7 separate regions of the Homo sapiens genome follow, and all the other regions are linked to region 4. Evidence: promoter capture Hi-C in 16 types of primary human blood cells and fetal thymus (Javierre and others, 2016). All regions are on one chromosome and are shown on one strand. The core of a region is centred on a gene start or on the middle of the fragment in contact, and the rest is flanking DNA. Distances in the headings are between cores, read along the strand shown. Region 1 overlaps KRT23 (keratin 23). Region 2 holds the start of KRT40 (keratin 40). Region 3 overlaps LOC107985072 (a long non-coding RNA gene). Region 4 holds the start of KRT31 (keratin 31). Region 5 has its middle 8.6 kb from the start of KRTAP2-4. Region 6 overlaps LOC105371777 (a long non-coding RNA gene). Region 7 holds the start of KRTAP2-2 (keratin associated protein 2-2).

Region 1 (4,196 bases), core at 311-2,810, 470 kb before region 4:
CTTGGTATTCATTGTTCTGCCGCTCCAGTTCATGGCGTAGCTGCGTCAGTTCCTCCTCATAGTGGGAGATGATCTCTTGCATGTCCTGGAGCTTGCAGGAGTACCGAGACTGGGTCTCGGATAACATGTTTTCCAAAGCAGATTTCTGAAAGAGGAAATGATCTTCTGTTAATTAACTGATGGCTTGATTGAGTCAATAACAGGTGATTGTTGAGTACTTAGCAGATGTCGACCAGTTGGCTAGGTGTCTTGGTAGCTGCTGAGGACACCAAGATGAGAAGTAGGCTGACTTACAGGTTTGGGACTTGGGCAGTCAGGAGTTGAGCAGTGTTAGGACTTTTGAAGTCCATTGCCTTGCTCTGAACTGTTGTTTAACTCCTTTCATTTTATCTTTGACCTGATTGAAAACTCCCAAAGAGCGACAGCAACTGGGACTGCTATCTCTTTGTATCTTCGGAGAAGGGTCTCAATTAGGGATGCCAGATAAAATAGAGAACATCTAGTTAAATTTGAATTTCAGATGAGTAATGAGTAATTTTTTAGTGTAACTATGTCCAAAATATTGCTCCAGTATTGCATGGGACATGCAAAAAAAATTGCTTTTTATTTGAAATTCCAACTAAACTGAGTATTCTATATTTTAATTTGGTAAATCTGGCAACCCTAGTCTCAAGCAATGCTTTTTGATTATGACGATGGTAAAAAAAAAAAATGTCATTTTTTGAGGAAATTCTAACAGCTGCCAAATGAAGTTTCTGGGCTAGAATATGGAGGATTGAGTTCAAGTCCCAGTTCTGTTTGCATGTAACACCTGCTTTTCTGAAGCGCATAATTTTAACCTTAAAGAGAATCTCCTAACTGTGCTGGATACTCTCCCTTTATCGTGGCTGCTAATTTTCAGGGGGCCGTTCATGCTGCCTGGCGGTTAAAGCACATTTCCCTGGTCAGCCAGTCTCCTACTCTCCCAGGAGGTTATTTTGTTCCCTCTCCTCTGTCCTTGCCATCCTTCCTCGGAGTCCATGGCCTCGCTTCCTAATTTTGTTGATGAAATGAAAGCAATCGGGAGAGACCGCCCACTGCTCCCTACATTGCTCCCAGGCACATACTTGAATCTGCATCTGGGTGCTGGCTTCCCTCTGTTCTTTTGTGTGAGCTGTCTGTGCTCCAGTCATCTCGGCAGTTGCCCGCCTTCTTGCGTTATCAATATTCTCTCTGGATTATTCCCACCAGCTTTCAAATAGAATAATTTTTCCTACCTTAAAATATATCTTTCTTAAACCCATATCTACCTTCAGCTATCATCCAATTTCTCTGCTCTCCTTCAGCTACAGCAAAGCTCCTCAAAGAGTTGTCTATGCCTGCTGTTCCTCTTGAGACCCCTCCAAGGTAGCCTACAAAGCCCTACACTGTCTGGTTCTGTTGGGACTCCGCGGCCTCACCCTGTCTTCCTCCCTCTTCCCCTCCCTTCCCCTCCTCTTCTCTCCTTTCTTCTTCCCTTCATTCACTCACTGTAGCCACATGGACTTCCCTGCTGCTCCTCCAACTCATCAGACACACTTGTGCCTTGTCGCTTTTGCACTTGCTGTTCCCTCCTCTTGGAACACATCCCATCACCACATCAAGCACCTCCTTACCTCTTTGCTCACTGCCACTCTAACAGGAAAACCTTTCCTGACCACCTTGTTTAAGATAGCAGCTCTTCACCCTGGTGCATCTGCCCTCCTCCTCTGCTTCATCTCTGTAGCAATTTTCTCCATCTAACATATATTTTGATGATTTGCACATTTATTATCTGTCACTCCTACTAGAATATAAACTCCTTCATTAAAAAATCCTCAGTGCTAAGGATTGGTGTCAGATAGTAGAATGCATGAAAATGGGTATACATGCCTCGCCTGTTTCACAGGGCCATTGTGAAATACTGTATGTTAAAACGTTTTGAAAGTTGCACTATAATTATTTTTGTACTCATGATCTCTACGTGCACATTTGCAGTGTCTGTTCACCATCACGGATGCATAAAACACAGCAGTCATTTACCCAAGTGCACCTGCAACATAAATGAACAAATCATTGCCTCTCAAGACTGAGGGTAGAATCGCACTTGGCAATTATATGGATGAATGATTAGAAGACTCAATAGGGTATACTGGGAATCAAATGATAGACCTTCATAAATTTTGAATGCTTATGACCATGCTAAGCATTTTTCTAAACTGTGAAGATGATAGAAATGACTTGGACACAAGAACTTAGAGTTTTCTGGGTGATAAGACATATACATAAATGAATAGGGCAGTGCTTTGGAGTTAGCCAGGCCTGGATCTGCCACCTACCATGTTGGCACTGGAATTTCTCTACATTGGGGTTTGAGGGGGGTAGCCTGGTTGTAAGTGGAGAGGGCACTGATAGAAATTATGGGGGTCTAGAATCCCCCTTCCTCCAAATAAATCATATGGTTTCATCACCAGTTACTTACTAGCTGTGTGACCTTGGCCAATTTATTTTACTGTTGGAGTTTTGGTTTCCTCATCTCTAAAATGGGGACACTAAGACCTATCTGGGAAGGTTACTGTAAGGATTAATGACATTTAATATCATGAACTACTTAGCACAATGCCTGGCACCATCGGGACACTCAATACATGGTAGCCCTTTATTATGGTTCTCATCATAAACAATTTGGATGGAAAGTGGAAAGTGAGAGTTGTCCCAAGGGAGTTGAGGGTCAGGGCCTGGGAGAGAGGTCTCAGAAGGCTTCGTGAAGGAGGTGGTGTGGGATTCACGGTTTTCCTAGCCTTGACTCACCGTGCTGTACTGTGTCTGCAGGTCAATCTCCAGGGCCTGGAATGTGCGCTTCAGTTCGTGGATGTCACCTTGTCTGCTCTGCACAGTGGCTGGACTGGCTGCCTCCTGGGACATGGCTGCAGACTGTGGGACCAAGCAAGGCAAAGGCGTCAGCATTGGGACCTCATGGAAATGCAACCTTTGGGAAGTTTGTGCATCTTTCTTTTACCTGTTCTTTATACCAAGTGTCCAAGTCTCGATGCTTCTTCTTTATTATAAGCTCATATTCTTGTCTCATATCCTCCAGGACCTTAATCAGATCTTCCCTGGGACCTGTATCCACCTTCACATTGACATTGAAGTCACTTGGCACATGATGCTTCTCCATTTCCTATTTAATAACAGAGAAAGGAAATGAACCGGCTTTGACAATCAGAAGGCTGGATTGCCATGTTGATTGGCAGTGGTAAATAGATCTTTTAAACATTCCGATTATGTGGTTGCTCCCACTGTCACTGGTTTGGTTTCTCAAATATTACTTACTTGTTGGTGATAAAACATTGTATACTTTTTTCTCTAATAATTTTATAAAATAAAGAATATCTTTGAGACCAACCTGACCAGCATGGAGAAACCCTGTCTCTACTAAAAATACAAAAAATTAACTGGGTGTGGTTGTACACACCTTTAATCCCAGCTACTTGGGAGGCTGAGGCAGGAGAATCGCTTGAACCTGCGAGGTGGAGGCTGCAGTGAGCCGAGATTGCGCCACTGCACTCCAGCCTGGGTGACAGAGTGAGACCCTGTCTCCAAAAAAAAAAAAAAAAAAAAAAAGAATATCATAAGGCAGGTAATCAAATAGCCTCCATGATTACTGACTTGATCCGTGGTTGAAAATATTTCAGAAAGAATTATGCTTCCATAGTGTGCAAAGTCCTGTTCAGCAGATGTGGATTGGTGAAGTGACAACATAGTTAAGCAGCTGAACCTTACAGGCTATAGGCCAAAGCTTTTGGGAAGCAGTTCAAGAGGCAAACAGCAGAAAGAAGGTGTAGAGGCTTTCAAAATCTCATCAATGCCTTGTGACACTGTAGGGCTGACGCCCATAGGATTTCATGAAAACCAAGCAGCCACAGGAAAGGTTTAATTAACAATCATTGTCTAACCAGCTATTCAGAAACTGAGCTCTTTGATGTTGAGAAGCAATTTTGTTTTCCTAAAATGGGAACTGTTTTTCTATCATTTTATCAGAGTCTTGAGGACTTGTGATGGATGGTAACTCTAAAAGTCAGTTAAATGCTTCTGGAAATTAGGATTCTTTATTTTTGCCCCACATCACACTTATCTTGGTTGGTAGCAGACTCTCTTCATTATATTGTCCCCTAACTTGCTGAACATTGGGCCAGTGA
Region 2 (2,700 bases), core at 1-2,500, 410 kb before region 4:
AACTTCAGTTGCCTTGACTCCAAAACTCTCCTCTCCTGAGAGTTTTATAACCCCCCAAAATGGGTGTTTACAGACTGCACCGGATGTTTTCTTTATCACTGATGGTGCCAGTTTTCGTACAAACATCTCATTAGAGTTGTTTATTTACTGAGGAAGAGTTTTATGCCTCATAAAATAGGGATAACTTTAGGTTACCAAAGCAGGACCCACACCATTTCCATGTGCAAGACAAAACACTTATTTCAGAAAATCGTCATAGGAAGCATTGTGCTTTTGACAGAATAATAAAAGAAAGAGAAAATTTGGCCAATGAATAATTATAGATACAACTCATTACAAATCAGGAAAATAATATGTCCACAGATTTTGATTCTGTGGATTGATTGCTTGTGTCCCCTTTTAAAATTAGTATTACAGCTCACAAAATGACAATTATTTGTTTGTGCCACCACCATAAAAATGGTCAGTGTGATTAGTAATCTTTCAATGCTTTTTGTGATCTCAGAGCATGTGCTGATAAAGACTGGAGGAGTGAGCTATATATTGGGTTTAAAGTGTGTGTGTGTGTGCAAACCATGTCTACCTGCGTACAAATGGAAAAGTCACTTTACATAACTGATAGGAATAACTTGTTTTTCTGCAGGCTAAAATATAAATTGGTTAGAGCTGGAATTATGATCTTTGATTTCCTGAAACTTGCCTTCTCCACATTTCTCATTGCTTATTGTTAGATAAGTTATACTATTTTACCTGTATTCCTAATAAGAGTGAAATATAAATTCTAAGTTATAACCTTTTAGTCCCTTGGGAATTCCTTAATGATTATACTTCAGAGTAGGGGCAAGGAACCCACAGGAATCTTTTCTTCTGAGATGTAGAGCCTGTTTTCTCCTATTTATTTATTTATGAAGGCCTGAATTTCATGAAAATTGAAAATACTGGAACTTGGAAAATAAAATTCTATTTAGGTTCCAAATCAGTAATTCCACTGGATGAAATCTCTGGTGCCAAATCTGACAGACAGGAACTTGAGATACGTAATTTTTTTGAATTATCTCTTGGATTTCACCTCCATTGTGAAGGATAATCTATTTCACTTTGCTTGGTTTTAGTCGTTACATTTATTTCATTTTCAAAGGTGCATAGAGAAAATTGTCTCTAGAATTTTTAAGAACATTATAGGAAAAAAACAGATTAATCTGAAAAAGTTAAAAAATTTTTGATCCAGAATAAACTTATTTTTTCTCCTAATCTTGAGTGCTACTTCCTAGGTACCTGATAGTAGAAACCAAACCAAACCAAACCAGAAGAACATATGTAAGTGAGTTAAAATAGTCTCTTAGGATTTATTACTCCCTGGGCAGAGCTGGGTTTGAATTTAGTGATTCTCTTTACACATCAACACTTATGCAAAAAGTTCTTAGAGTGTCTCATGGTATATTGACGCTGCTCTGCAACAAATATGAGTTCAAGGATTCAAAAACACTTCTGAAAAATTACAAATCTCTGAAAGAAAATTATCTTTTCACAGTAACCTAATGAGTCAAAAGAAAAATATCTGTGAAGAAAACCCATGTTTTGGTTGTCCATCACAGGCTCCAGTTAGCTAAAATGCAGTCATGTAAGTGCAGGTAAAATAAGAAATATTTCCTTCTGTCTGGAACTAATTTCTAATTGTAAATTATTTGTTACTGGTTATTGTCCTGCAGGTAGGACTATTTATTTTGGTCTTGATTAATTAGGTAGTGTTGTATAATGATCTATAGCTATAGTCTCCATCGTAGAATATAGAAATCACCCAGAATTCATTTCTGTGGAGTCCTCCTTAGGGAAAAGAAGTCAGGCTGGCAGGACCAGAGGAAAGCAAGTTAGTGGGTGCAGCGCACCAGTATGGCACATGTATACATATATAACTAACCTGCACAATGTGATAAATAAATAAAAAAAACCAAAAAACAAAAAACAAAGAAAGAAAGCAGGTAATGTATAAGACTCACCTTCTTCATGGTCCAGGACACATAGCCCTCCTGCACAATATTCCTGCACCCAGCTATCACCAGACCTTCAGCTGATAGAAAAATGTAACTTAGCTCACTGCAACCTTAGTGTTATCAGTACCACACAAACCCTCTTCAGCACACAGTACAAGCACCATCCTGTAAAATCTCCAGCACGCCTTTGTCTCCTTGCAGACAGCCCCTTCTCTGCTGTGCTGCCCATTGCTTCCTTGCAACGTATTTTCATACGTTCTCTAATATATCTGCCTTTCTTTACCTACAACTATCTTGATAAATTCTTCTTACCCCCATGCCACCAGCCCCAGATAGTTGCTAATCACCCGTGACAATTTCTATAGCATATCATCACCAGAAGAAAGGAACATTGGGAATAGAGAAAAAGAAATAGACATCATGAAAGGCCATGATAAAAAAAAAAACCGACAACAACACGGTAGTTTATTTTGCATAATACTATGCTCTTACCTTACAACATCCACCTAGGCTGCCAGAATCATTTTCCTAAAATACAAACCTGCTTTTTGTCGCCTTCCACTTATGGAATGCAAACTTTCTACCTTGGCAAATATGACCTTCCCTAACCTGGTGCCAATTTACCTTTCTGGGCTCACTTCCTGATGTTCTGTCTCACAAACCCTAAGCTCCAGCCATCCTTCAAGCTTCGTAGGTACTATTTTCTTGG
Region 3 (4,061 bases), core at 511-3,010, 450 kb before region 4:
TTGTTTGGTTCACTCAAATATTGCTGCTTCTTCTTCGTTTTTCTTTCTTTCTTTTTTTTCTTTTTCTTGAGACAGAGTCTTGATCTGTTGCCCAGGCTGGAGTGCACTGGCGCCATCTCAGCTCACTGCAGTCTCCACCCCCCAGGTTCAAGCCTCCCGAGCAGCTGGGATTACAGGCGCCCACCACCATGCCCTGCTATTTTTTGTATTTTTTGTAGAGATGGGGTTTCACCATGTTGGCCAGGCTGGTCTCAAACTCCTGACCTTGAAAGATCTGCTTGGCTCAGCTTCCCAAAGTGTTGAGATTACAGGCGCGAGCCACTGCATGCGGCCAATGTTGCTTCTTATTCAGAAACAAACCTTAATACATTGTTCACACAAAAAACCCATTGTTTGCCTTTTCATTCATTGAACAAGTATTTACTGAATGCCTACCCTGTGTGGAGCAGAGAAGGTGAGGAGGAGGGCAGGGTGAGAGGACGCTGGTGGCGCACAGGACACAGGGTCGTTCTGGGCTTTCTCAGCTCTGCTGAGTATTTTGATCTTCAACACAAGAGATGTGGAAAATGAAGATTTTAAGCAGGGGAGTACTGCACTGTGATCTTCAAAAAGATCACCCTAGCTGTCTCATGGAGAATGAATGAGGGTGAGAGTGAAGTGGTGGGGATGGCCAGGAAGGGACTGCCCCTGTCCAGAGGAGAGACAATGGAAGTTTGCTTGTTAATTTTGATTGACTTAGTAAGATATTCAGGGATATTAGAGTAAGAGCACAGCATTAACTACTTTTCTGCCGTGAGAAAGAAGACATAATAATAGTCAATAATAAATTGACTATTATTATGTCAATAAATTGACCCTGTGGTGTGTATATGCTGCATTTGTTATTCGAGAGGATTGCATAATAGACACGGTGTCTATTATGGTACCTTAAACTGTATATGTTTGATATGTGTCCTATTCAGTAGGCTTTTAGACAGGGAGTAATCATATGTTTTGCCAAAATATTTTTTTGTTCAAGGCTCTCAACTTGCTTTATGGACAAGTAACTACCACGATGGACTTTTTCTTATGGATGTAAGAACTAAGGCAGTGAAAGGAGGAAGACTTGCCTAAGGTTGTGCAGTGAGTTAATGGCAAAGGGGCCCTAGAGCCCACTCCCTACATGGCTGCTGGTTCGTATTTCACCCATGTGCTTACAGAGACTTTACCCATGTGTACAGTGTCTTCTCACATTTACTTCTAGGTTTCTCCCTTCTATATGCGTGAATGCTGTTCTCATTACCTATTTTACTGCTCGTAGATTACTAATCACGACTCGATTTTTAGTTTGCGATACAGGTTTTTCTTTTCCCTTCCCTCCTTTCTTTTGGTTTGGAATATTTGCTTTTCAAAGCTCTGTTATTCTAACTAAAACTTTTTTTTTTTTAATTTTTGAAGATCTTCTTGATGGTGACATTTTCTGCATCTTTGTTGCAGTTTGGACTAGTGGGAAGGATTTTGGGCTAGGGGTTTAAAGTCCACGCTCTACCGTTAACCCACCCACCTAGCAACATTAACCTCTCTGGTCTCAAAGTTCTTACCATGAAAATGAGACTGCCAATAATTTTCCTTGTAGTTTAGAGGGTTGTTGTGGGGAGCAAGTGAGTTAATGTACATACATAAGCTTTGTGATCTACATGTAATATATATACATTAGCTATGTAATAGGTGTGTACTTTACATACATGAGCCACATAATTGGTATGTAACAAACATACTTGAACTATGTAATTTTCAAGCAATGTACACACATGATACATGTAATCTGTATGTAATATACATACAGAAGCTATGTAATAGGTCTGTAGGGTACACATACAAGCTTTGTAATCTGTAGACTGCTGTGCAGAGATGAGGGCAGAGGAGGAGAATGATTAAAAAACACCCGTATTCCACCCTGAAGTCAGGATCCCACAAGTCTGGACAGAGGGGAGACCGATGAAGTTGTCAGGAAGTCACAAGGGCTAGATGAAAAAGTCTAGCCTAAAAGCTATAATTCTGTCCCCAGGTGAACTTAAGGAGAAACAGGAACTTCAGGAGTTTACATTTTATAAACTTAGTCCATGTAAAGCTCAGTCTAGATTTATGCTGATGAATACCCTGGTTACCAGCTGTCAGTTCACATCCCAATTCTGCCATTGCTACCCAGTTCTTCAGTCTTTAATTTCCACAGCTGTGAACTGAGATTAATACTCAGCCCTGATTGATGGGGTTGTTGTGGAAACGAAAGGAGATAATCTATGCATTATACATTAAAAAGTACTCAGTGATACTATTATGAAAATGTGTCTGTGTGTGTTTGTGTGTGTATGTGTGAGTGTGTTAGAATACTCTATTTTAGCTAGGTGAAATAAGCCTATATCTATGTTCTGGTTTTGGATACTTTTGCTGAGAAGTCATATATATTTTTATAGAGTGTTCTAAACTTACAGAATTTATTTTAATATGCTTTGTGGCTTTTAAAATCTCACTTTTCTATATAAATTATATCCTAAACATAATCCCCAATTTTTTGTTTTGCTATATTTTATTCTTACTATTATCATGTTATCTGTTTAAAGTTATTTTAGGGCAGGCACTCTTTCCACCCTAGCAGTGAACTCATAGTTCTTCCCTAGGAAGGCTTGAGTTTCCAAATACAGGTAAAAGCCATTTCCAAATGCCTTTGGTTAGGTCCCACTCTGGTCTTTTCCTTCTAGCTCTGTCAATTAGGGAATAAATTATTGCAAAGTGTATATTGGTTAAAAAAAAAAAGGAGGAAGAGGCAGTTTTTCATGACGGTTAAAAGTGCAGGATTTGGAGTCCCATGGTCCTGGGTGTGAATCCTGGCTGTGGCACTAACTATCTGTGTGACTGGCTGTGAACCTCTCGTGCCTCACTTTCTTCATCTGCAAAATGGGTAGTTGTATAGCAAATGCACATAGAGAACACTTAACACTTTGGCACATTGGAAGCACTCAGTAAATGTTAATTGTTATTATTGTTGCTCTAAAGAGATGACCCCACAAGGTTATGGAGTATGTTTACATCTTCAAACTATTAGTTAAGATATAGCCTTAAACATATGCTCTCCTTATGTCAGAATGTTCCCTGAGGGTTGAAGTACAACCGGGAAGCTTGATTGGTTCGTGAATTTAAACACTCGTGACTTTATTGCTTACTCCAGTTTTGGTTTTGGGGTTTTAGAGAGATAATACATGGGCTGTCTCTTTTCCCCTCCCTCTCTCTGTTTCCTTTGGTGTGGGAGGAAGAATAATGGTCCCCGAAGGATGCCCAGGTCCTAATACCCAGAGCCTGTGAATAGCTGATGTTACTTGGCAAAAAGGTAATTAAAGTCACAAGTAGAATTAAGGTTGCTAATCAGCTGGCCTTAAAATAGGGAGAGTATCCTGAATTATTCAGGTGGGCCCAAGATAATCATAATGTCTTTAAAAGTGGAAGAGGGGCTGGGCACGGTGGCTCACGCTTGTAATCTCAGCACTTTAGGAGGCCGAGGTGGGTGGATCACGAGGTCAAGGGTTCGAGACCAGCCTGACCAACATGGTGAAACCCTGTCTCTACTAAACGAACGAACAAACAAACAAACAAAAAACCCCACAAAAATTAGCTGGGCATGGTGGCACATGCCTGCATGCCTGCATGCCTGCACACCTGTAATCCCAGCTACTCCGGAGGCTGAGGCAGGAGAATGGCTTGAACCTGGGAGGTGGAGGTTGCAGTGAGCCAAGATCGCGTCACTGCACTCCAGCCTGGGTGACAGAGCAAGACTCCGTCTCAAAAAAAAAAAAAAAAAGGTGGAAGAGGGAAGTAGAAGATTCAGTCAGTGTTGGCGAAGGAGATGTGATGAAGGCAGAGTTAAGGGTGACGAGATGGCTGATGGTGAAGATGGAAATGGTGGACAAGCCCAGGAATGTGAGCAGCCTCTGAAAGCTGGAAAAGTTTGGCAATAAAACAAATCCCCCCCAGGACCTCCAACACTTTGATTTTAGTACACTGAGTCCCAAGTCAGATTTCTGAAATAG
Region 4 (3,760 bases), core at 419-2,918:
TTTCAGACCATATATCAAAAAACTCTTGCTGTCAAGTAAGAGGTAAGAGCATGTCATGGCCCCTCCCAAGAGAGAGGAAGAATCTCACAAACACTCTTCACCAATACTTTGAAAGAGTAGAGACTCACATTTATAAGGTTTGATATTTTTTTTCTTGGCCTTTGCCAAAAAAAAAAAAAAAAGACTTTACAAAGCAATAACACTGCAATGCTAGGACTCATTCTACAACTATTGATCAACTGCAAGCACATGGAGCTGCTCCGGGCAACTCAAATAATGTGCTAGTTTAAAGTGAAAGATGTTTCCTGTCTGGGAACATGAACAGGTCTTATCTCTCTCCAATTTTTCTCTTACCGTGATGTTTTCAAAGGAAACCCTCAGTCTTGTACTCATACTCTGCATTCTGCTGCCCCAAATCACTAAAGCAACCCTGAGCCAGAGGCTGAGACAGGTTTGTGCATTTCTCATTTCTAGTCTCACCTGCTCATGGTTGCTCTTGAGGCAGAGCAGCTCCTCCTTCAGGGACTCCACCTGGGCCTCCAGGTCGGACTTGCACAGGGTCAGCTCATCCAGGATCCTGCGCAGACCGTTGATGTCCGACTCCACCAGCTGCCGCAGGGACAGCTCGGTCTGGTACCTGCGCAAGGACAGGGTCAGAGTACTACCTGGTAGATCTTCAAGACTCACAGGAATGATTTTTGATAACCTCATGTGCCTTATCTTTCCACTTTCTGTAATGAATAGGCCCAGGAGACAGAGGTTTCTGGAGGCTCCATCAATACCCAATATTCATCCCAAAACAAACAGATTGATGTGAGTCCTCATCCATTTTTGCATTTCTTTGCTTGGTTCTCCCCAGTCCTCTGCAGAATCCTTCACAACAAGTGGGTAGATCTGTTTTCAGATGGAAATCCCTTTTCTTTAAAGATTAAACAGAAGCAATTGACACTAGTGCAAATTCCGAACAACTCACTTGGTTCTGAAATCATCCGCAGCCAGCTTGGCGTTGTCGATCTGCACCACAAGCCTGGCATTCTCAGACTTGGTACACAGGATCTGGGGAGTGAGAGGTGGCTTAGTGAGGACTGAAAATAAATATGAAATCATCAACTTTTTAAAAATGACTTAAGCCATTTTGAAATAAAAGAGGAAGCAAGAATTATGACAGCACAGAAGCAAGAAACACACTTCTCTATCACAGACAGAATCACAGCAAACTCTCTTGCTTGGAGATGACAGCAATGCCGCTCACCTTCTGCTGGAGCTCCTCAATGGTCTTAAAATAGGACTGGTAACTGGGGCACAGCAAGGGCTCCTGCTGCTGAGACCGCTCCCGGATGAGGTTCTCCAGCTCCGCGTTGTCCCGCTCCAGCTGACGCACTTTCTCCAGGTAGCTGGCCAGGCGGTCGTTCAGGAACTGCATAGTCTCCTTCTCGCTACCATTGAAGGAGCCCTCGCAGAACCAGTTGCAGTTGCTCACATTGGCGGGGATGTTGCAGGCCCCGGGCAGGGTGCAGCTGTGGCAGCTGGGGGGCACGCAGGGCCGGGAGGAGCAGCTGGTGCGGCAGCTCAGGCTGGGCAGGCAGAAGTTGTAGGGCATAGTGCTGGGAGGGAGGGAGGGAGTGCCTGGCTGAAGACAGAGTCTAAATTCTCCAAGCCACAGAGCTGTGGGTCTCCTTCCTCTAGGGAGCATTTATATCCCACTGCAGAGGGTGTGGACACAGTATGTAATGTCTTTTTTCTTTTTATTTCTTCACTTCTTTTCAAACGCCCTTTCCTTCAGTCTGTTATTTGCCTTCCTCTGAAGAGTCCCTTCTCCCATAAAATTCTTTACTTGGGCTTCTTGCTAAGTCAGGACTCCTCCGCAGACAGTCCACCCATGAAATCAGAGTTCTGTGGTAGGCCTTCAAAGAGGCTACACAGTCCAGCCCAAGTATCTGCCCTCATTAATTGAGGTGTTGATCCATCCGATGACATTCTTTTGTGTCACATAATTCTGCAGGCCCATAAACATACTCATGTCCTGGTCCACCTGCCGTTTCTAGGGAGAAACACGGATTGATTTGAGGAAGAAGTTGCATTAAGAGGCCACAGTGGACTGTCTTTCCCTCTGCATTTAGAGAAGAATCTTCAAATGATGGAGCATTCTGTGCCTTGGAAGCCTTAAGGTGGATGATTAGAATCAATGGAGGACACGACTGAAAAGATTAGACAGCGATTTGTGTTTTACGGGTCCGTGTAATACTTCCCCCCCACCACCACATATTACTTAAGAAAATTGTAGAGGAGAGAATTTTAAAGGTAGAGGCTTTGATAACTAGTTGGAGAACAAGAAGTTTCTGGGGTAAGAGATCGTTTTGAAAGAGGCTGAAAAGTGCAAACCGAGAGAGCCATAAAAAACACATTTAAGGCTGGGCACAATGGCTCACGCCTGTAATCTCAATACTTTGGGAGGCCGAGGCCGGCGGATCACGAGGTCTAGAGATAGAGACCATCCTGGCCAACATAGTGAAACCCATCTCTACTAAAAATACAAAAAAATTAGCTGGGCATGGTGGCACCCACCTGTAGTCCCAGCTACTCGGGAAGCTGAGGCAGGAGAATCACTTGAACCTGGGAGGTGAAGGTTGCAGTAAGCCGAGATGGTGCCACTGCACTCCAGCCTGGTGACAGAGCAAGACTCCATCTCAAAATACAAAACAAAACAAAAAAAATGCATTTAAATAATCTAGGAAAGATATTCAGGGGCAGAGAGAAAGGAATAAGGAGGTCTTTGTCAAACATTTCCTAAGGTTATCCATAGTATCCGAACAGAGTAGATGGATATGTTAGGAAAGTCAGGAGATAGCCCAAAGGGGCCTCCACGGCCTGAAATCACTTGTAGTTGATCTTTAAACTTCATATGAATTGACCCTATATTCCATAATATATCCATGTTGGCTTTAATCTTTATATATATATATATATATATATTTTTTTTTTTTTTTCAGATGGAGTCTTGCTCTGTCACCCAGGCTGGAGTGCAGTGGAGCGATCTCGGCTCACTGCAAGCTCCGCCTCCCAGATTCATGCCATTCTCCTGCCTCAGCCTCCTGAGTAGCTAGGACTACAGGTGCCCACCACCACGCCCGGCTAATTTTTTGTATTTTTAGTAGAGATGGAGTTTCACCGTGTTAGCAAGGATGGTCTCAATCTCCTGACCTCGTGATCCACCCGCCTCAGCCTCCCAAAGTGCTGGGATTACAGGCGTGAGCCACCGCGCCCAGCCAGCTTTAATGTTTTTAAAAAGCCCCTTTTAAATTTCCAGTTAAACTTTCAAATACTTTGCTTAATTCTCTAAGAGAAATGGATACATCAGGAAGATGTACCATATTCTGTCCTGGGCTTCCCATCTCCAGCCCGAGTGGAGATGCCACCTGCTTTAAGAACCAAAGGTCTAAAGGTACCAAAGGAGGTCTCTGTGGTTGTGTAATTAAATCCAAGGACCTGGGCACCAGGAAAGAAAATGCTGAGCACGGCATGAGCAAGGGGGTTTTGCAAGGCAAGCTGGAGTCATTTGGGGTTGCTTTGGGAGGTGAAGGAAGGCACTAGAAGATCTGAGGAAGAGGTAGCCAAAGTTCTGAATATATAAAAGTTGCAGCACCCCCATCTCCACTGTGGCTTTGGCTGCCAGCCAGAGCTGCCGTTTTATTGACAATTTATTGGAGTGCTTCTCCCATTGAGCTTTCATGATGGTATTCATGTTGCACTCTGCTTGAGT
Region 5 (3,849 bases), core at 524-3,023, 320 kb before region 4:
ATTTAAATGCATATCGTACAAAACCTCCAACTTCTATGCTTGGTGTGCAGTCAGATGACCAGATATCTCACACTATTTCATTGGAACAGGCTTCTAAGCTTACAATTGCCGAGTGTGGTCTGGACTTTGCAATGAATTACGTCTGGTAGAGTAACTATATCTCAATAAACACTCTCTTGGTATCAAAAACATTTGTGACCTTTCAGTATTTCTTACTGTTGATTATTTATTTGTAAAATGGTTTGAGTTCCTATTGTATGGGCAATAACAAAAAAATTGATATTATATGTATCAGCCAAAGCCTGTATTAGAGAAAATGCCAAATAATTCATTTTTTAATCCAAAACAGATTGCTCACTTTACCTGCCATCAAGTTTATTGAGACAAAACAAGAACTCAATTTTTACTGTAATTAAATTAAGAACAAATTAGCAAGCTATTGGGCTCTGGGAATTGCATAAAATGAATGAGACCCACTTCTTTTCCCTTAGGTAACTCACAACATAATCATGGATTTTTTTTTTTTTTTTTTTTTGAGATGGGGTTTCGCTCTTGTTTCCCAGGCTGGAGTGCAGTGGCATGATCTCAGCTCATGGCAACCTCTGCCTCTCGGGTTCAAGTGATTCTCTTGCCTCAGCCTCCCAAGTAGCTGGGATTACAGGCATGAACCACCATGCCCGGCTAATTTTGTATTTTTAGTAGAGACGGGGTTTCTTCATGTTCATCAGGCTGGTCTTGAACTCCTGAACTGAGGTGATCCACCTGCCTCGGCCTCCTAAAGTGCTGGTATTACAGGCGTGAGCCACCACACGTGGTCTGAAAGTTATTTTTCTTTCCTTTCCCTCTCCACTCAATTAATTCAATTAATCATGAATTTAATTTAAATGCATATGTCAGGGAGAGTATGTTGGTAATATTAGTGAGAAAAAGGACTCTATTCTATTGGAGAAAAGTAATACATACGTAAGGATTGATTCATAGAAATAAAATGTGTCAATTCTGAAAATTCAGGTTAACATGCACAGGTCTCAAACACGTAAGATTATGTGAAGGAGAATCAGATCACAGCCGAATATTTATATCTTTATGAAGGGTAGTCTTATTAAAAAGACATTTAAAAAATTATAGTCCTTTTAAGGAGGAGGGATATGTCAAGATTAATTCATGGTGAGTTCTATGGAAAAATAAGAGGCATAATTTTAGGCTGAAGCCATAGAGTCAGTGGGAAAATCAGCGAGCATGAGTGATGAAACACGTCATTATGGGAAAGAAAGTGATGGAAACCAAATTGGAATTGCAGTTGAGTTCTATTTTTGAGATGCTTCACTGACCCATTAATGATATTCATCCACTCATGCTCCATTAAAGCTCCAATTGCAGAGTTTGCATGCAGGTCTACCTATGAGACATGCAAAGGTTAGGGCTCACTCCACATGACCTGGATCAAGTCACCCAGCTACCTGTGTTTCCTTTATAACTTTGAGATTCCCTTTTGCATTGGGAGTTCAGTTCATATTGTATTTCCTGTGTCTTTTCAAGCCATTTCCTTCCATTTCAAAATGATATCAATCAAAATGATATCAGTAGGCTCAAGAGCTCTAGGCAAAACTTTTAGCTGAAGAGGAAAATAAAAAAGTAAAGTAAGCACAAAACTCAAAACAACATATTCAGAAATTGATATGGTAATGCGACGTGAGAATCGTATCTTTGGGCTCAGGCATCCCTCTTCAATTTATTCCAGGACCATAAATGGTCTATACAAGCTGTTTCTCGTTTCAGTATTGCTTAAGTACCTAGGCCTGAGAAATCTATCAGAGCCTCAAACTAGTAATGATGCCTATTCTGTCATATCTGCATATTGCAAAACTGTATTTGTTTTATTCATTTCTATGATCTCTTCTATGGCACATAAACATTTATAAATATGTTATCTTCATTTTTGAATTTTTTCCTTTTTTTAAAAGACAGGATCTGGCTCTGTCACCTAAGTTGGTGTGCAGTGGCACCATGTCAGCTCACTGCAAAATTCAACTCCACGGCTCAAGCCAACCTCCCCTAGCTACTTCAGCCTCCCAAGTAGCTAGGACCGCAGGCATGCACCACCATGTCTAGCTAATTTTTGTATTTTTTGTGGAGACAGGGTCTCACTATGTTGCCCAGGTTGGTCTTGAACTCCTGAGCTCAAGCAATCCACCCACCTCGGTCTCCCAAAGTGCTGGGATTACAGGTGCAAGCCACCACACCCACTTTATTACCAGAAAATATAGGTATTGTTACCCCATTTTTTAATTTGCCTACCACTTGTGTATTCTTTGCTATTTTTATCCCCTACCACTTTTAGAATATATTTGAATCTTTTTAAATTTTATCAGCTTCATCTCTCAGAACCATTATTTTATGCATGACATCTATACTGTAATGGAATTCTTTATTTTGACTTGTATTTCAGTCAATGGGAATATTTCTTAAAGGAATTTTAAAGGGAAGTTATATATCCCGAGTCCTTGAATCTATGAGGAAATCTTTCCATTGCCTTCACACATGACCAATAGCTTGTGTGGATCAAAATAACAGGGTCTGATTCTGTCACCTAAGCTGGAGTGTGGTGGCACCATTTCAGCTCACTGCAAGCTCCAACTCCTGGACTCAAGCCATCCTGCCACCTCAGCCTCCCAAGTAGCTGGGACCACAGGCATGCCACAATTTTTTTTGCCCTTCAATGCAGTTTAGGCGTGAATAAAATATTGGAAAATAAAATTAACCTTCAGGATTATTTAACATGCTTTGGAAACACAGAGAAAGAATCTCACCAACATCTGGAGCATGGGCACTAGTTTACTTCAGGAACACTTAAGGGGGAGTGTATATATGAGATACTAAGTCTAATTTTAACAGTTTAGTAATAGCAGGTCCTTAAAATGTCAGAAAATTAACTTTTATGTCCTCTTATCCTCTTTGAATCCATTATGATACACCAACTTTTAAAAGGTGTTAAAAAACAGAAACCCTCATCTTACTTTCTCAGGACAGGAGACAATAGCAGATAAGAAAGTGTAGCAAATTTGGGGCAAGAGCAATGGTGGTCAACTAAAGATAACAAAAGGAGCTACAATGTGAATGCATACAGAGAGAGTACCACAGAGTGTAAAGTTGGTTTTCCTTGAATCCTCAGAAAGGCTCAGAACCCGGAGTCACCAGGTAATACCCCTGAAGGCAGGGTAGGCAGCAGGATGCTTCGACCCCTGGATCCCTACCCCACCCTACAAAGTTGGTCATTAGGCCTCCCCCACTTCCAACCAGGAGAAACAAGGGTTATCTTCCAGAAAATTTAGTGACAGAGACTCCAGATTTGGGAATACTAAAGTGAACAAAAGTCAAGAATAGAACAGAAAACAGACTCATGCAGTGAAAATCTGAGTACTGTGCTCAGCATCCAGGACTGATGGCCATAAGCTTTCCAAGCAGGATATTGGAAGATTCTCCTCTAAAGAAACTAAACATATAAATCTTGACTTCTTTTTTGTGGATGAAGGGGAGGAGAGGTGAAGAGATCAATTAACAAGCCCTGCTGTCCACACAGAACTTTCAATTGGCTTTTTAGTGCCATGTTAACCAATATGCTTCAGACACTTGGGAAATGTCTCCAGCCTGACAATTCACACTAATTTAAAAAGAAAAAAAGAAAAAGGGGGAAAAACAAATTTGACAGGAATAGAAACTACAGGGAGCAGAATAGAACTAAAAAATTGTAAAACAAGAACTATTGTAAATAAAATACTCAAGAGAGCTAAGAGAAGAAATTCTGTTTGAAATAAAAACAAGATTCTAAGAAACAGGAGCAGTCAGAGA
Region 6 (3,995 bases), core at 1,079-3,578, 490 kb before region 4:
ACCCTCCCAACCTTGTCTCCAGGTTTACAATTATCTGCAGTGTTTGAATAGAGCTCAGAGATCTCTGGGCAGTGACAATGAGTCAGCTGGGCCCATTCATGTTGGAAGTTTTATATGGGTGAAAGTTAAAAATGTTAACTTGTTTCTATGTTGTAAAAATGTTAAACAAAGAATAAAAGTATATTCTCAAGATGACTCATGAGGAAAAAAGAAAGTATATTAGTAGTTTCAGAGCTCAGACCTGAATCAAATGCCTGAATCAAATCAAAAACTACTCAAAGCTTTGAGACCTAAGAAAGTCACTTTCTTTTAATACTAATGGACTTGGTATAATTTGTAATGCCTGCAGCTCAGAGTTTAGGCGGAGAGTCAGCCACATTGGCTTCACCTGGGGGCTGATTACAGATCTCAGGCCACCCCCACACCCCACACCCATCGCCACCACTGACCTGCTGAATAAGGATCTGTATTTTATCAAGATCTACAGGTGATCTGTGTGCCTATTAGAGTTTAAGAAGTGCTGTAATGTTGCACTCAGCAACTACTTATCTTGGCGGTGGTGGGAAGGGAGGAGGGAAATCTAACCCCTTCACAGGTGCATCAACTTAGTGCCTAAGACTTCTTGAAGCATTATGGGAAAGCGAGGGTTCTCAAAGTGTGGGCTTCAGACTGGCAGCATCAGCAGCACCCAGGAGCTTGTGGCAGTGCAAATTCCCAGACTCTGATTATCTGGCTCAGAAACTCTGGGAGTGGGACCCCACAATCTGTGGCTCCATCTTAGCAAGTCTTTCCAGTGCTTCGGATGCATGGTAAAGTTGGAGAACCATGGCTGTAAAGTATCAGTAGTCGAGGAGCAGGAAGATATTTCCACTGGTTGTACATTTTAGTTTAGAATGCTTGATCTTGTCAAGCGGAGCCCCACATTGAATCACATGTTTCATAAGGCAGTAATTCTAACTTTGAAAGAAGTCACGATGCTCTGACTAATTTGAAATTTATTTTTATTTCTGAGGGAGATTTGGACATGGAAAGGGATGGCAAGAAGTGAAATGGTTGAAAAAATAAAGAGTATGACATGATCTGGCAATTATTAACCTGGGGAAGTGAAGAGTGAAAGAAGAAGCAATCGAGCCACATGTTATCTCTGTAAATGGTGAAGTGACTCACCCTAGGGCTCACCAGGAACAGGAAGATGTCGTTTCTTTCTTGCCTCCAAGTGGCAAGCAGGGACTGTGTGTCCTTCATTCATAGCTGCTTGAGAATCAATTACAATAGGTGGGATGCTGTGATAGCCAATAGGGTTCAGAAATCAAGACACAGTCCATGATTCCGAGGAGGCGGCAGCCTAGCCGGAGACGGTGACTAATCGGGAATTATATATAATGTTCACGAAAAGATTTGTGGATATAGAGGAAGGATCCCCAAGTAAAGCTGGGTGGGAGGGAGTCATTGAAGTTTTCCTGAAAGTGCAGAGTTTGAGGGAGAGTCCAAGCTGGAAAAGCACAGGGACATGGAGGTGGCCCACGCATCCCTAAAGTGCAGCGATGAGTAACTGGTGGATAAGTCACAGCCCATAAATCTCAGAATTCATCCATTCACTCCACAAATATTTACTCAGTACCTGCTGAGGGCCTGGCACTGTTCTAGGCCATGAGGATACTTCCGTGAGCAAGACAAACACAAATTCCTGCTGACAAGGCTTCATTCTAGCAAAGGGATATAAACCCCATACAGATAATATATATGTAAATTATAAGACAATGTGATGTAATCACACTGGAAAGGTAGAGAAATGGCAACCGGAGGTGTGAGATGGTGTAAGAATCCTGTGATGCCATCTTCTACAATGGGGATTTAGGTCTTTAATGTCTTCTTTTTTTTTTTTTTTTTTTTTTTGAGACGGAGTCTCGCTCTGTCGCCCAGGCTGGAGTGCGGTGGCGTGATCTCGGCTCACTGCAAGCTCCACCTCCTGGGTTCACGCCATTCTCCTGCCTCAGCCTCCCGAGTAGCTGGGACTACAGGTGCCCATCACCTCGCCCGGCTAATTTTTTTTTGTATATTTAGTAGAGACGGGGCTTCACCGTGTTAGCCAGGATGGTCTCCAACTCCTGACCTCGTGATCCGCCCACCTCGGCCTCCCAAAGTGCTGGGATTACAGGCGTGAGCCACCGTGCCCGGTCTTTAACGTCTTAAGTTGATAAAACAAGAAATAGCAGTGTAAGCATATTCCTTAGAGATATGCAGGTTAATACCAGAAACAATAGCTAAAAGATTTCAGAGAGAAACATTCAGGAGTGGGGACACCAGGGGCTGCTATTTTTTACTATGAACCTTGTATAGTATATGATGTATTCATTCATTCACTCACGCATTCATTCATGAATTCACAAGTCTGTGTGAATATCAGTGTGTGCAAGGTTTTGTTGCAGATGCTGGGGATACAGTAGTTAAAAAAACACAAACGTTTCTGCCCTGGCGGAACTTAGATTCAGGGGTGGGAGCTAGAGGTGAAGGGAGTAGGTCAGAGGAGAAAAAGGAAGGGTGGGGAGGGCTGGGAAAGTTGCCCTTGTGTGTAGAGAGATGAGAATGGGCCTCCCTGTGAGAGTGGTATTTGAATGACAGCAGGAAGAAAAGAGCCATATGGCAGCTCAGGTGCAAAGGTCTATAGCAGTTTAGGTGTGAGTGTGGGTGGAGCAGTGGGGATGTGGGGGTGCTCAGGGATGGAAGGGAGGGTGGTGGAAAGGACCTCAGCAATTCGGAGGTGAATGGTGAGGGATGTGGATGCCATCATCCAGCAAGGAACCTGCCTTTTACTCTGTGATATGAGAAGCCACCGAACTTTGGCGATGGAGTAATTCCTTATATCTTTAAAAAGAGGCACAAAGACCACACCTCATAAATACTGACATCATATTAACAGAATAGATAATACACCACTTTTTCAAATGTATCTTTTTTTCTTTTAATCGCTGAGAGGGAAAAGTAGTATCAGTGGCAGCACACACACACACACACACACACACACACGGAAGAAATGGAAATAAAAGCTAAAGAACAAACTAGTAATGATTCGGAGTGAGACCCCTAACACCTCCCGAATGGGGGCAAGAAGCTCAGGACTCTGGTAGCCCAGGCAGAGTCTGAGTAACTGGCGTTGCCTCTCTTCATGCATCTACCTGATCCACCTGTCCTTCTACCCACCCCTCTGATCCCTAGGAATTCTGAGAGCCTGGTATCACCCAGGTACAAGATGAAGAAGTCTATTGTCCCCTAGAGGGTAAATGGCAAGAGGTGCAGTTTAGGAGGATTCTCAGTCTGGGAGGAGAAGCTAGCTGAGAGCTTGCCACAGATGTAAGCAGGAACGCCCGGCTGAAGTGGGAACGAGGCAGAGGCTGGAAGACACAGCAGAGTGCTGTGCAACAGATGCCGCCTGGCAGACATGGTGCTCTCATCACAAGAGACTGTTATTTGGTACTGAAGTAGCCTTCACATTCCATAGAAAAATGTCTTTCTATTTTTTATATTATACTTTAAGTTCTGGGGTACAGGTGCAGAACATCCAGGTTTGTTACATAGGTATTGATGCGCCATGGTGGTTTGCTGCACGCATCAGCCTGTCATCTACATTAGATATTTGTCCTAATGCTCTCCTCCCACAGCCCTCCACGCCCCGACAGTCCCCAGTATGTGATGCGCCTCCCACCCCCCGTGTCCATGTGTTCTCACTGTTCAACCCCAACTTATGAGAGAGAACACACGGTGTCTGGTTTTCTGTCCTTGTGTTAGTTTGCTGAGAATGATGCTTTCCAGCATCATCTATGTCCCTGCAAAGGACATGAACTCATCCTTTTTTATGACGGCATAGTATTCCATTGTGTATCTGTGCCACATTTTCTTTATCTGGTCTATCATTGATGGGCAATTGGGTTGGTTCCAAGTCTTTGTTATTGTGAACAGTGCTGCAATAAACATATGTCTGCATATGTCTTTATAGC
Region 7 (3,955 bases), core at 1,340-3,839, 340 kb before region 4:
GTAAGTTTCAACCCAGGTGCGGCCTCCTAGCGTGTTTCTTGTTGCAGAACATTTCTCAGGTGTTCAATGCATGCCTGGAATTTTGGGCACAAGTGACTCTGTACACATGATAAAGTCATAGTTGTATCCATCTTCCTGACTCAGCTGTGCTCCATAAATGCCATTTACAATGATTATAAGAAAACTACTCAGACTTAAGTTATGAGAACTGTATAAGAGGATTATTCTGCATCTTGCTTTGAGTATCTCTAGAAAAAAAGAGACAATCTCCCAGAAGAAAATATCACAAAGACCATGATTTCTATGGTAGGAGTATTGAGTTTATTAGAAAGCAGACAACATGATATAGGAGTTAGACTGGAGTCCTAGGAAAAGTATTTCTCATCTGTGGTTGGTCTGAAAAGGTGTCTTCAATGCATAGTGTGAGCTAGTATGAAGAGATGAGAAATGGGCTTCTCAAGGAAACGTGTATTGCTCTGCGGTGAAGCCCTGAGGGGCAGCGGGATGGACCTGGCCATCTTCTGAGGGGCCCTTCGTGATAACGGGCTGCTCAGCAGGAGGAGGTCCTGCAGGTGGTGCTGCAAGGGGTCGGCTGGCCGCAGGGGGACTGCACAGACACAGGCTGGCAGCAGGTGGTGGCTCAGCAGGAGGAGGTCCTGCAGGTGGTGCTGCAAGGGGTCGGCTGGCCGCAGGGGGACTGCACAGACACAGGCTGGCAGCAGGTGGTGGCCCAGCAGCAGGGCCTGCACACCACAGCCGTGCACGACGAGGGGCAGCAGGTGATGGGGCGGCAGCAGCCTTCCTGCAGGGAGCAGGGGTCGCAGCACACCGGGCGGCGGCAGGGCTCGCAGATGGGGCGCGTGCAGCGGGGCACGCAGGTCACGGGGCGGCACACGGTGGTCTGGCAGGTCACGGGGCGGCAGCAGCAGGGGTCGCGGCAGCAGCAGGGCTGGCAGCAGCCTCCCCCGTAGCTCAGGGAGGAGAAGGTGGAGCCGCAGCAGGAGCCGGTCATGGTGGTGTCTGAGGCTGGTGTGGGTTGGGCTGTGGAGAGGAGCTGGATGTTCTCAGGTGTGAATGTCCTCCTCCCCCTCTGGGCCCTTTATATACGCTGGCTGGGAGCTGATGACCCCCAGGACACAAGGTCATTTCCTTGTTTTCACTTATTCTTCCTGAAATAACACCAGCAGATTAGTAAGTTTTGTAGACATTGTTTAGATGCTCAGGTACACATAAAAGTCTATTTTCCTTATTTAGTGTAGACCCATTATATTTTGCTATTTATGGTTCAAATATGAATTTAATGACCCTAACTTCAAAGTCTCCAATTATCGTTATAATTCAATGACGCTTTTGCTAGTTGCTGTTTTGATAGCTCAAAGCAGCTGTTGTGCTCTGCATGCTCTGAGGGTTATTACTTGCTAGCAGTTGAAGTAAAGCGAGCATCTCAAGTTGTTAGTATTCTTTGCCACTGCTAAGCTTCCTGGGCAAAACAAGTTGAGGATAATACTACAGGGATAGTTTAAAAGTCAGGATTTCTCAGTAAAAGAAGAATTTTCCTGTCCCCTTTTTGGAGGTACAAGAATGCATTTTAGTAGGTTTCCATCATCCAGTGGTTTTTGTCTTAGAGATATGTTCATTGATTTCTATGGTTGTATCTTTCCAGACCAAGGTAAATTTCACTGTAATCTTCATGATAGCCAGTATCATTAAGTTGTAACTATGTTCCAAGCATCATATTAAAAAATACATGCATTAATCTAATCTTCATAACATTCTTAGGATGTGGATATTGTTTATTTCTCATTTCACACATAAGGAACCAGATAAGTGACTTACCCAAGGTCATGTACCTAGTAAGTGTTGGAGCCAATACTCATTCCAGAAATATCTGTGGGAACATTATTTATCAGCCCAAAAAGCTGAAGAACTCACTGTAGCTAAAGAATGGATTGTAGGTACCACATTCCCAGGTATTAAGGAATGTCTATTTTATTTAGGAGCTTTTACAGTGTATTTACTTTGAAAACAGTTGTTATTTATGATATGTCTAATTTTTAGAGTCGGTTGAAAGGACTCTATGTCTTACCAACAGCCTCAGGAGTGGGAAGAATTACCTTCTATTCAGCCTTCTGAAAATGTCGAAACATACCCTAAGGAGATAGTGTCATAGTTGGGCATAACTGAATGATTATGGGGTATTGTGAACAAAGCCACCAATATGGTGAGGAAGTCAAACAAGTCTATGTAGAGGAAGGTTGCAGTCTTGCGGTATAACAAAACCCTTCAGTAGTGATCCCACTTGAACGTGTTCTCGGGCCTCATCTGGCCCATACCTCAGTGTCTTCAACATCTCCCTGTGTGCTATGCTGGGGCTCATTTCTGCTTATGGAACCAATTGTCATTTTTAATTGTTTCAAACTGTCATGACTTGTAGGCAAATTATGTCACTCAATCACTTTTGAGTCTTTGCCTCTTAATTTACTTGGTTCTGACCTTTTCCTTTACAACTAAGACTGTTCTATTAGGTTGGTGCAAAAAGTAATTGTGGTTTTTGGCACTTTCAATGGCAGAAGCTACAATTATTTTTGCACCAGCCTAATAGATCTGAAGTTGAAGGTTCAAGTGTAAGCATTCTTATTGATCACACCACTTGCATGGTTTCTTATAGGCTTACCCAGATCTGCACCAGCCACTTCAGCCAACCAGAGAATGGGGTGACTGTGGGAATAAATGAGATCCAATAATAATGATAGGTTTGAGGGGAAACAAGGCATTGTCCATTTGAGAAAACACTTTTAAATAAGGAGGTCTCTAGAAGGCTAACAAGAAAAACTCTGAGAGGAGAAAAACAGATGTACTTAACGAATTTTGAAAACAGTGATCAAGAATATATAGAAAGAAATTAGACTTGTGAGCCTATCCATTGGTTAATTACCAAACCGTTAAAAAAGATAAAACTCCATTGTGCACGTACTGCAAATGTAAAGTTTTTGAATATAACAGTCTTCTTGTTGAGAAACTTTTACCATATTTCCAGAAAAAAGATCTTTCTTCATGATTGGTTTATTGTTTTATTTTAAGAATATGCATATCCAGCATGAGTTGAGAGTTGGGATGGAATGATAATGTCTTTCTCTGTTTTAACCAATCCCCTTAGAACTTACTCATTTATCATTCAACACATCATTTCTGATTATACTCAATGTGCCAAATATCGTGCAGATCAGTGGGAATCTAGTAGTGAACAAAGTTAGTCGAGATCCTGGCCCTCAATGTAAATTAGCTCAGCCATTGTGGAAAGCAGTTTGGCAATTTCTGAAAGTATTTAAAACAGAATTACCATTCAACCCAGCAATCCCATTAGTGGGTATGGACCCAGAGGGATTGAAATCATTCTACCATAAAGACATATACATGCATATGTTTATTGCAGCACTGTTCAAAGTAGCAAAGATATGGAATCAACCTAAATACCCATCAAGGGTGGACTGGATAAAGAAAATGTGGTACACATACACCATGGAATACTATACAGCCATAAAAAAGGAAATTATGTCCTTTGTAGCAATGTGGATGAAGCTGGAGGCCATTATCCTAAGCAAACTAACACAGATACAGAAAACCAAATACGGCATGTTCTCACTTATAAGTGGTAGCTAAACATTGAGTACATATGGACACAAATAAGGGAACAACAGATACTGAAGCTTACTTGAGGGCAGATGGTGGGAAGAGGGTGAGGATAAAAAAACCATCTATCTGTTACTATGCTTTTGTTTAATTAAATTAATTAATTAATTAAGTTTTGAGACAGAGTCTCACTCTGTCACCCAGGCAGGAGTGCAGTGGCGCAACCTTGTCTCACCAAAGCCTCTGCCTCCCAGGTTCAAGCGATTCTCCTGATTCAGCCTCCTGAGTAGCTTGGATTACAGGCGCATGCCACCATGCCCAGCTA

Evidence for each region. Contacts are between HindIII fragments. The CHiCAGO score rates a contact against its expected background, and 5 or more counts as called.
Region 1: a fragment that was not itself captured here is called in contact with the fragment with the promoter of KRT31 in region 4 in 10 of 17 cell types (total B cells, endothelial precursors, naive CD8 T cells and 7 more); the score reaches 8.9 in total B cells.
Region 2: a fragment that was not itself captured here is called in contact with the fragment with the promoter of KRT31 in region 4 in 1 of 17 cell types (naive B cells); the score reaches 5.3 in naive B cells.
Region 3: a contact is called between a fragment that was not itself captured here and the fragment with the promoter of KRT31 in region 4, in 13 of 17 cell types (naive B cells, total B cells, naive CD4 T cells and 10 more). The highest score is 10.8, in naive B cells.
Region 5: a fragment that was not itself captured here is called in contact with the fragment with the promoter of KRT31 in region 4 in 3 of 17 cell types (activated CD4 T cells, total CD8 T cells and total CD4 T cells); the score reaches 5.6 in activated CD4 T cells.
Region 6: a contact is called between a fragment that was not itself captured here and the fragment with the promoter of KRT31 in region 4, in 7 of 17 cell types (M0 macrophages, total CD8 T cells, endothelial precursors and 4 more). The highest score is 7.3, in M0 macrophages.
Region 7: a contact is called between a fragment that was not itself captured here and the fragment with the promoter of KRT31 in region 4, in 3 of 17 cell types (total CD8 T cells, total CD4 T cells and total B cells). The highest score is 5.3, in total CD8 T cells.

The regions. Positions count from the first base shown.
Region 1 is chr17:40,925,430-40,929,625 of GRCh38, forward strand. KRT23 (keratin 23) reads right to left here. Exons shown (of 9, transcript NM_015515.5): 5 at 3,017-3,178; 6 at 2,809-2,931; 7 at 1-145. It overlaps LOC107985072 (a long non-coding RNA gene), which reads left to right and starts at 3,174. Exons shown (of 4, transcript XR_001752886.2): 1 at 3,174-3,253. The HindIII fragment of the contact is 4,468 bases long and covers 1-3,794 here.
Region 2 is chr17:40,984,307-40,987,006 of GRCh38, forward strand. KRT40 (keratin 40) reads right to left here and starts at 20. Exons shown (of 7, transcript NM_001389244.1): 1 at 1-20. The HindIII fragment of the contact is 2,850 bases long and covers 1-2,675 here.
Region 3 is chr17:40,945,216-40,949,276 of GRCh38, forward strand. All of the region lies in intron 1 of LOC107985072 (a long non-coding RNA gene), which reads left to right. Among named protein-coding and RNA genes, the nearest start is that of KRT23, 9.6 kb to the left of the region's middle. The HindIII fragment of the contact is 198 bases long and covers 1,662-1,859 here.
Region 4 is chr17:41,395,940-41,399,699 of GRCh38, forward strand. It overlaps KRT31 (keratin 31), which reads right to left and starts at 1,669. Exons shown (of 7, transcript NM_002277.3): 1 at 1,253-1,669; 2 at 974-1,056; 3 at 481-637. The coding sequence starts at 1,600. The HindIII fragment of the contact is 10,261 bases long and covers 1-3,760 here.
Region 5 is chr17:41,072,506-41,076,354 of GRCh38, forward strand. No RefSeq gene overlaps it. Among named protein-coding and RNA genes, the nearest start is that of KRTAP2-4, 8.6 kb to the left of the region's middle. The HindIII fragment of the contact is 3,355 bases long and covers 97-3,451 here.
Region 6 is chr17:40,902,174-40,906,168 of GRCh38, forward strand. All of the region lies in intron 1 of LOC105371777 (a long non-coding RNA gene), which reads left to right. Among named protein-coding and RNA genes, the nearest start is that of KRT20, 19 kb to the left of the region's middle. The HindIII fragment of the contact is 4,098 bases long and covers 280-3,995 here.
Region 7 is chr17:41,054,200-41,058,154 of GRCh38, forward strand. KRTAP2-2 (keratin associated protein 2-2) reads right to left here and starts at 1,031. Exons shown (of 1, transcript NM_033032.3): 1 at 299-1,031. The coding sequence starts at 1,012. The coding sequence ends at 641. The HindIII fragment of the contact is 2,231 bases long and covers 1,475-3,705 here.